3 separate regions of the Homo sapiens genome follow, and regions 1 and 2 are each linked to region 3. The links are contacts of gene promoters, found by promoter capture Hi-C in human tissues and cell types (Jung and others, 2019). All regions are on one chromosome and are shown on one strand. Each heading gives the region's core, a stretch centred on a gene start or on the middle of the fragment in contact. The rest is flanking DNA. Distances are from core to core; before and after follow the strand shown.

Region 1 (2,700 bases), core at 57-2,556, 1.0 Mb before region 3:
CAATTCAGAGGCCCTAGACCATGCTGTCCCCAGAGCCTGGGTGCATTGCTGATGACGAGATCCCAGCCGGGGGTCAGGCCTCCCAGGACTGTCAAGCTGGGCTGCTTGAGTCCCTGGCTCCAGGGGTGGGGGTGGGGCTGAATGGCAAGGGAGAGAGCTGGTCCATTCCAGGCTCCAACCTCAGAACCCTCTGGGAGTAAGATTACCCAGCCCTGTGCTCGGGCTGAGCAATCAACTATAGCGCACACGCTCCTTTACTGTGGTTCCGAGATAGTTAATTGAAATCTGGATACTCTGGGTAAAGTCAGAACATCCAGCTGGGCCCAGCATGGGAGATCAGCTTGATGAGTCTCCCGCACCCTATTCTGGGCATCAGCAGAGTCAGTTCTCTGAAGAGTCTTTTTCATATATATCACATAGATAGAGAGATAGGCAGGTTGGTAGGTAGGTAGATAGGTCAATAGGTAGGTAGGTAGGTAGTTAGACATAGGTATCTATCTATCTATCTATCTATCTATCTATCTATCTATCTATCTATCTATCTATCTATCTTACTGTAGTTTAGCACAGACATTGGTTAAGTCATGTCACTCCTCTGAACCTCAATTTTCTCATCTCTAAAATGGGGATATTAGGCCGGGCGAGGTAGCTCATGCCTGTAATCCCAGCACTTTGGGAGGCCAAGGCAGGTGGATCACCTGAGGTCAGGAGTTCAAAACCAGCCTGGCAAACATGGTGAAACCCTGTCTCTACTAAAAAATACAAAAAAAATTAGCCAGGTGTGGTGGCACGCACCTGAAGTCCCAGCTACTCGGGAGGCTGAGGCAGGAGAATTGCTTGAGACTGGGAGCCAGAGGTTGCAGTGAGCCAAGATCACACCATTGCACTCCAGCCTGGGTGACAGAGCAAGACTCTGCCTCTAAAAAATATAAAATAAAATAAAATAAAATAGAGATAATAATAGACCCACCTCCTAGGATTGCTACATGAGGGCAATGAACTGATCTACATAAAGCACCAAGCATAGTGTCTGGCAGGTAAAGTTGGCCAGTAATGTCATCAACATTGTTATATAATAATAATTATTGTCATTAATTTTATTGCCCAACTGGCGTCCCAGCCTGAGCTGAAGCTCTGTCTCTTGGCCACCCTGTCCAGGAGGTATGAGCCTGTTTTCTTGGGCCAGATCTTCTGCTTGGCTTGAAGCCAAAGTGTGACTTCCCAACCTCTGCATGCAGCCCCCTCCCCAGGGTGCTGGTTGGTCTCTCCTCTCAGCTGCTGCTGCAATGTGCTTCACAGTGACAACACACCCACAGCTCCAGTGGCAGTTGATGCATCCTTGTGGCCAGAATCATGCCTGGCAGGACGCATGTGGCAAAGGGCTTGTCTGGGTCGGTGCTATGCTCTCTGTGCCAGGGAAAATCCAGCTCTTGGAGTGGGTGAGAGCAGGGAGGCCTTCATGGTGGTGGAGTTAGGGGATGGGAGAGACAGGGAAGCAATGAGGGGCTTGCACAGAAAATATCGTTTTACCCTAAGTACCCAGATGACAAATGAGACCCAAAATGACCTTTGGCAGGGGCCGTGGCTTCTGGGGACCCCAGCGTTTGACAGAGCAGGTGGCAGAGCCGCAGGACCCAGCTCTAGTGTGTGGCAGTTTGTTGGTTTCATTGCCGTTGCTGGGCCAGACGTGCACTGAGGACCCCGGGATAAAGGGGTTTACTGTGAGGATGCTGGGGCCCAAGACCTCGTGGGCACAGGACCCAGGTGAAGACCCCAGGGCCCGTGAAGAGCCGAAGTGGATTTCACTGTAGGGGCTTCTTGTCATCCCCAGGGGTACACATTCTTGTGGCCGCTCCTGCTGCTGGCAGCCGAGTCCTTGGCCACGAGCCCAGCCTCCTCTGGGGGGTGGGTCTCAGCCCAGGCCCACATCGGGCTGTTGATTTCATTGGCTGCTGGCTGGCCTCGCCATTGGCTGCTTGCAGCCAGGTGCTCACCCCTGCCCATCAGCTGTGGCCATGGTGGTGCCAGCAGGGAGAGGAGCATGTGACTTGCACGTGAGGAGTAGCCGAAGGCTTCTTCCCTAGGGGACATGTGTCTACCTCGGGGCGATGCGTCTACCTGTGGATGGGGAGGGACCCCTTATTGGGGCCCAGGCAGGTCCGCATTCTGGGCCTTGTCCAGTACACCCTCTGGTTTCCAACCAGCCAACCAGGCTCCTGGGGGACCCACCAACCCTCCCCTTTCTTCTCCGTACTTCTCTCCTCACCTGGTAGACACACATGTCTTCATTTTGGTTCTTACGTTGAGAGACAAACCCATCCTTCCCTCCCTTTCTTCCTTCCTCCCTCCCTCCCTCCCTCCCTCCCTTCCTTCTCTCTCCCCTTCCTTCCTTCCTTTCTTTCTTTCTTTCTTTCTTTCTTTCTTTCTTTCTTTCTTTGTTTCTTTCTTTCTTTCCTTCCTTCCTTCTTTCTTTCTTTCTTTGTTGGTTTCTTTCTTTCTTTGTTTCTTTCCTTCCTTCTTTGTTTGTTTGTTTCTTTGTTTCTTTCTTTCTTTCTTTTTTCTTCCTTTCTTTCTTTCTCTCTGTCTCTCTTTCTCTCTTTCTTTTCTTTCTTTCTTGCACCTAGGTTGGAGTGCAGTGGCATGATCATGGCTCACTGCAGCCTCGACCTCCCAGCCTCAAGTGATCCTCCCTCCTCAGCC
Region 2 (2,783 bases), core at 262-2,761, 1.1 Mb before region 3:
AGTAGTGTCCAGTACCCCCTGGTGGATGGGCTGCTTGATGGGCAGATTCAGAGCCACCTCTGAGAGCGTGAGAGCTGCAGACGTTGACCCCCTGGACTCCTGCAGCAATTCCCAAGGAGCCTCTCCATCATCTGACAGGGACTCCGTATCCAGTGAGTGCACGTGCATCTGGGTTTGGCTGAACCAGTCTGCAGAGGGCAAGACTTTGAGACTTTAATATATGGCTTTTGACCAAAGATAAAACGCTGGTGCAAGAAGTCCCGAGTCTACTATTTTTTCCAGCCCAAGGAAGAGAAGAACAATCTCAGTGGAGACTGTTCCAGAGAAAACGTAAGGCATTCTAGAAATGCTGCCCTGCTTCGGAATGGTCTTCCAGAAAGGGGAACCCCAGACAGCCCCCATCGGCCCCTCCCCCTAGCCAATGAGATGTAACAGCAGCTGCAGCAGCAGCAAACATCTACTGCACTCCTACCGTGCCAGGCCCTGTGCAAACCGTGCGGCAGAGACTGACCTGCAACCAATTCCTGTTCCACCTCCTAGCTGGGTAACTTGAGGCGTGCACTGCCCCTCGGAGACTCCGCATTCTCATTTGTAAAACGAAAAACAATCTACCTCAAAGGATTGCTGGGAGAATTCAATGAGATGATGCTTTGCCCAGGGCCTGCCACATAGTAACTGCTTAATAAGAGGTAGTTCTCAAAGTAAGGGATGACACTGAGAAAAGGAAAACTACTGTTACTTAAGGGGTTCTTAAAAGTCCTAGAAGCCATTATTTATGCATTTAGGTATTTCCTAAGCGTTTGCTGATACCAGTTTTTCAAATAAACTTTATCCTCACAGCATCTTCGGGGTGGAAGGGGCAGAGGGTAGAGCGACAGACCTGCCGAAGGAGGAAAACCAGACCCGTGAAGGTCCAGGGGGGTGGCCGGCAAGCACCGAGGAGGAGTCCCCCGGCTCAAACCCTCTTGCGTGGCTTCAAAACATCAGACGCGCCTCTCCTCGCGGAGAAGCTGGGGGCCATTATTTGTGAGGCAGTCGGCGCTGGGACTCTAAGTCAGCACCGCAGAGAAGTGGTCATCTTTTGTTCCGAAAGAAAAAAACGCACGTCAGGGCTCAGAGCCCGAGGAAAGAAAAGTCAGCGCCCGAGACGCGAGACGCCACGCGGATGCTTTCAACGCTAGGTCAGGCCCCGGCAGAAATGAGAGGGGGGCGGCCCCGGTTCTGGAGAAGCCACGAGCCCCCAGGGAGCTCAGAGTGGGGTGGTGCTGGGGCCCAGAGGCCCCCCTGGGCGCCGACCGGAGGAGGGGAGAGGGGCGGCGGCGGCCGGGGGGGTCCCGGGCTCCGCTCACCGGGCCGCTGCGTCTGGCGTACCTGGCGAAGCCAGGCCCTGTCAGCCCGGAGCCGGGCTGGGGTCGCCAATGCTCAGAGGCCCGGCCCACAGAAGCAGCCGGTGGCGGCCCGGAACTCACCTGCACTCGCAACTGCGCCGCCGCCGCCTGTCAGTCAAGCGCGCCCCCTCTGAGGCGACGCGCAGGGTTGTGGGGCCGTCTGGCGACGCCCCACCTCCTTCCCTCTGCCGTCCAATCGGAAGAGGCTGACGCCAGGAGAGGGGGCGTGGCCACGCGGACTGTGCGTGCCGGGGGCGGGGCCAGACGGGGCAGGCGCTCTGACCGCTCTGCCGCGCGCCGGAAGCAGCCTGGGCCGCTGCGCAGAGGCGCGGCGGCTGTACAACTCGGCCGTTGTCACCATGCCGGTCGTCCGGAAGATTTTCCGTCGCCGCCGGGGCGACTCGGAGTCAGAGGAAGATGAGCAGGACTCAGAGGAGGTTCGGTGCGTTTGGGGCGGGGCTCCCATAGGCTTGGTAAAGATAGACTTGTTTGGGGGACTCACCACCGGCTCGGCGCTTCGCTGACATTGTTAACTGTGAGCTCGGGTGGTGGTTCCTTCTGCGGACGCAGAAATTGAGGCTCAAGGGGTGAGGCCACCGCCCCAAGCTCGAACGGTTGAGAGAGATGCCTCCGGGATGCGCAGTGGCTCTGACTCCCGGTGGGTCTAGGCACAAGGTCGTCCTCTGGACCACTGTGCTGGTGGCTCAGTAGCTGGGCTGGGATGCCCTCGAAGGTGCCTTATTGGCTCTGTTAGCTTTGGATTCCGCGGGGAATCACTCAGCTTATGCATTGCTGCTTCTTCTTCTTTTTAAAGATTAAAACTGGAAGAGACCAGAGAGGTACAGAACTTGAGGAAGAGGCCCAACGGGGTGAGGTGGGTACCACGCGGGGAGGAGGAGGAGGCGGCGGGGACGACAGACACATCCGCGTCCGGGTCGCTGTCACAAATATCTCCTCAGACGTAGATTTTTCTCTTGACACACTGTACACCTTCCACTGCCCAACTTGGAGAACAGCGTTCTTTGCAAATGTTTAACCAGGACATGCCCTGAGCTGTGTCGTCTCGGGGTGTGCTCCAGAGATACAGAAACAGATCACTAACTCGCGTTTTTTATTAAAACCAATTAATTGTGAAATGCATATCGATCGTTAAGAGTTTGTATAATTTAGAAAAGTATAGTCAAGACGATAAAAAGCACCCATAATTCTCCCATCCGGAAATGATCAGTGTTAACATTTTTTTTCCTTGCAGAGCCACCCAAGAATGCACTGGTATTAATATTGAATACTCTTTCCAATCTGTTTTTTTTCGTCTCTCTCTCTCAGATTGTGAACAACTTTCTATGTACTTTTATTCCCTGTTCTTTTCAACTCATTATGACATTGTGGGCATTC
Region 3 (2,766 bases), core at 57-2,556:
TCAAGACTGTACGAACATAGTTGTAGCTGGTCAAAGATTAAAAGGTGCTATGCAAGAAAAAAGAAATCCACAAAATTAGTTCTTGGAATGGAACTGAGGCACCTGTCAAGAAAGGGTTCCTCAAGAAAGGAGCATCTAGCTAGGGTGTGGTAGCTCACGCCTGTAATCCCAGCACTTTGGGAGGCTGAGGTGGGCGCATCACCTGAGGTCAAGAGTTTGAGACCAGCCTGCCCAACATGGCGAAACCCCATCTCTACTAAAAATACAAAAATTAGCCAGACGTGATAGTAGGCGCCTGTAATCCCAGCTACTTGGAGGCTGAGGCAGGAGAATTGCTTGAACCCGGGGAGTCTGCAGTGAGCTGAGGGCCATTGCCCGCCAGCCTGGGCAACAAGAGAGAGAAACTCCGTCTCTCAAAAAAAAAAAAAAAAAAGAGAAATCCAGAGAAGAAATGATGGTGTTTTGAGATGGAGTCTTCCTCTGTCGCCCAGGCTGGAGTGCAGTGGTGCGATCTCAGCTTACTGCAAGCTCTGCCTCCTGGGTTCAAACGATTCTCCTGCTTCAGTCTCCTGAGTAGCTGGGATTAGAGGCGCGCACCACCACGCTCGGCTAATTTTTGTATTTTTAGTAAAGACGGCGTTTCACCATGTTGGCCAGGCTGGTCTCGAACTCTTGACCTCAGGTGATCCGCGTGCCTCGGCCTCCCAAAGTGCTGGGATTACAGGCGTGAGCCACTGCGCTCGGCCAGAAGGAACTGGTTTGACAGGATCCTTAGGACTTGGAGACTGGACGAGGGGCCCAGGAAAATGTAGGGGCCGAGGTCGCCGCCCAATTTCCCATTTGGAAGCTCGGTTGCCTGGTGGCGCATGCCCTAGATGGAGGTTAGGAGCACCTTTTGGGGGACGGTGATGACTGCGGGTTGACACGCGAGTGTGAGCCACCCGTGGAGAACGCAAGACATGTTCAACAGGGCGCTGGATGGAGGGGGCTGGCGCCCAGAGTCAGTCCTGCTATTCAGCAGTGTTGGGCTCAGGTGAACCGCAGCGCCAGGGCGGGCACCGATCCTAGGGTCCCACGAACAGGCCCCTCGGAGGCCAGGGAGAGCCCTGAATGACGCGTTCTCTCGGGTGGCCTGGGGGGGGCATCCCGCGGCTTCCTCCACCGGCGTAACGTGCCGGGCCCGGGGAAAGGAGCCGCCCGCCGGTCCCCGGAACCTTCTGCCGCCGCCGCCCGCGTTAGCCGCGGGACGGGTCGGGGGAACCCGATCGCTGTTGCTAAGGGGCGGCCCCGGAAGTGACGCGCCCCGGGTTTGTTGACAGCGGAGGCGGCGGCGGCTGCAGGCTCCGAGCCGTAGGAGCCGGATCGGGGGAGGGGCCGGGCCCAGGAGCCTCAGCCCCGCCGGCAGCCCTAAGGGCAAGGTAACCGCCACGGGGTCCCCGTCGCGACCCCCTCCCTCCCGGAGCTCCCGTCCCCGGGATCCCAAGCTCCGCCCCGCCGACCCCCGTCTCCCCTGGACCCCGGCTCTAGCCTGACGAGATCCCCAACCTCCTGAGGTGCTCTGGCCCCGGATTCTCCCGGGCTGCATTCTCTGCTCCTCCTCGCCTGCGAAGCATCACGTCCGCTTCCCGACGCTGAGGGCAGCCCCGTCCAGGGTAGGTCCCGGACCCCGGGCCAAGGGACGTACCTGCGTCCTCCTCCTTCGCCTCCTGCCTACGGGGCCTAAGCATCGCCGCTGCAACCACTCTCTGAGGTCCATCTCCGCCAGTGGTGGGAGGGTTCCTTTCTCTATCCCTGCCGCCAGGTCTGAGAATCGTGTCTTTAAAACTGAGCTCCCTTCCTCCAGAAAGAAAATGACGCTCTGTCGTTTGCCCCTACAAGATGGGGGATCGGTGTAGGGCTGAAAGGGCCACCCTCTGCCCCTCCTACCTGTTGGATGAGCTTAAGTTCCCCCAGAGAAGTGCTTAGAAGCTCAAGGACGACTTGGATTCTGGATCAGCTCCCAAAAGGGATGACACAAAGTATAGGGAAATCCAACAGGGTGAGGTTGCAACCGGAGGGCCAAGGGAGCCCGACAGGTGAGTTGATAGTGAAACTGACTGTGCTGGCCACTATAGCTCTCTGGGTGGAACTTGTCTTGGCTGCTCTTTGACCGAAAGAGCCCAAGATTTCCAGTCTTTGCCTGTGTTTGTCAGTCCATTCGTTTTGTTTTGTTTTGTTTTTCTTTAAATAGAGATGGGGTCTCACTATGTTACCCAAGCTGGTCTCGAACTCCTGGGCTCAAGTGATCCGCCCGCTCCAGCCTCCAAAAGTGCTGGAAATACAGGCATGAGCCACCGCGCTCAGCTAGTGCATTTGATTTTTAAGGGGGAGGGGAATGGAATGTCTGATGTCTTGGGAAAATCCTTCCATATATGATCTTTCACAGAATGTTTCTCTTCAGACTTCAAACTGGTTAGGATGAGCATAAAAGCATAGCCTTGAAAAGGGTCACGGGAGGCTATACTTAGAGCAGAAAGTGGTGGCCAGGGGTGAAGGGCCTCGCTACTTTGGTTCATTTGTTCATTCAGCAAATAATAAACATGATATGTAAGGAGGTAATAAGTGGTTTGGAGAAAAATAGAGAAGGAAGGACCATGGGGAAGGAGTTGGGAGTTGTCATTTTATAGAGGGTGTTCAGGGAAGGTCTCTAGTAAGGTGACCTTTGAGCAGAGATAAGTGAGGGAGCAAGCCAGGTAGTTCTCTTGTGGCAGAGCATTCCGCAGCAAA

What was found. Contacts are between HindIII fragments. The study calls those that stand out against the background at their distance.
Region 1: a fragment that was not itself captured here is called in contact with the fragment with the promoter of ZER1 in region 3 in 1 of the 25 tissues and cell types used here (dorsolateral prefrontal cortex).
Region 2: the fragment with the promoter of USP20 here is called in contact with the fragment with the promoter of ZER1 in region 3 in 1 of the 25 tissues and cell types used here (dorsolateral prefrontal cortex).

Annotation. Positions count from the first base shown.
Region 1 is chr9:129,774,222-129,776,921 of GRCh38, reverse strand. No RefSeq gene overlaps it. Among named protein-coding and RNA genes, the nearest start is that of PTGES, 23 kb to the right of the region's middle. RefSeq lists an enhancer at 1,290-1,856. The HindIII fragment of the contact is 4,926 bases long and covers 1-2,700 here.
Region 2 is chr9:129,834,186-129,836,968 of GRCh38, reverse strand. It overlaps USP20 (ubiquitin specific peptidase 20), which reads right to left and starts at 1,511. Exons shown (of 26, transcript NM_001110303.4): 1 at 1,470-1,511. It overlaps C9orf78 (chromosome 9 open reading frame 78), which reads left to right and starts at 1,694. Exons shown (of 9, transcript NM_016520.3): 1 at 1,694-1,830; 2 at 2,203-2,262. The coding sequence starts at 1,748. RefSeq lists an enhancer at 761-1,261 and silencers at 1,233-1,382, 1,413-1,762. The HindIII fragment of the contact is 7,728 bases long and covers 1,330-2,783 here.
Region 3 is chr9:128,770,467-128,773,232 of GRCh38, reverse strand. ZER1 (zyg-11 related cell cycle regulator) reads left to right here and starts at 1,306. Exons shown (of 16, transcript NM_006336.4): 1 at 1,306-1,652. It overlaps LOC124902282 (a long non-coding RNA gene), which reads right to left and starts at 1,899. Exons shown (of 2, transcript XR_007061804.1): 1 at 1,685-1,899. RefSeq lists enhancers at 215-941, 1,670-1,719 and a silencer at 1,010-1,479. The HindIII fragment of the contact is 13,726 bases long and covers 1-2,766 here.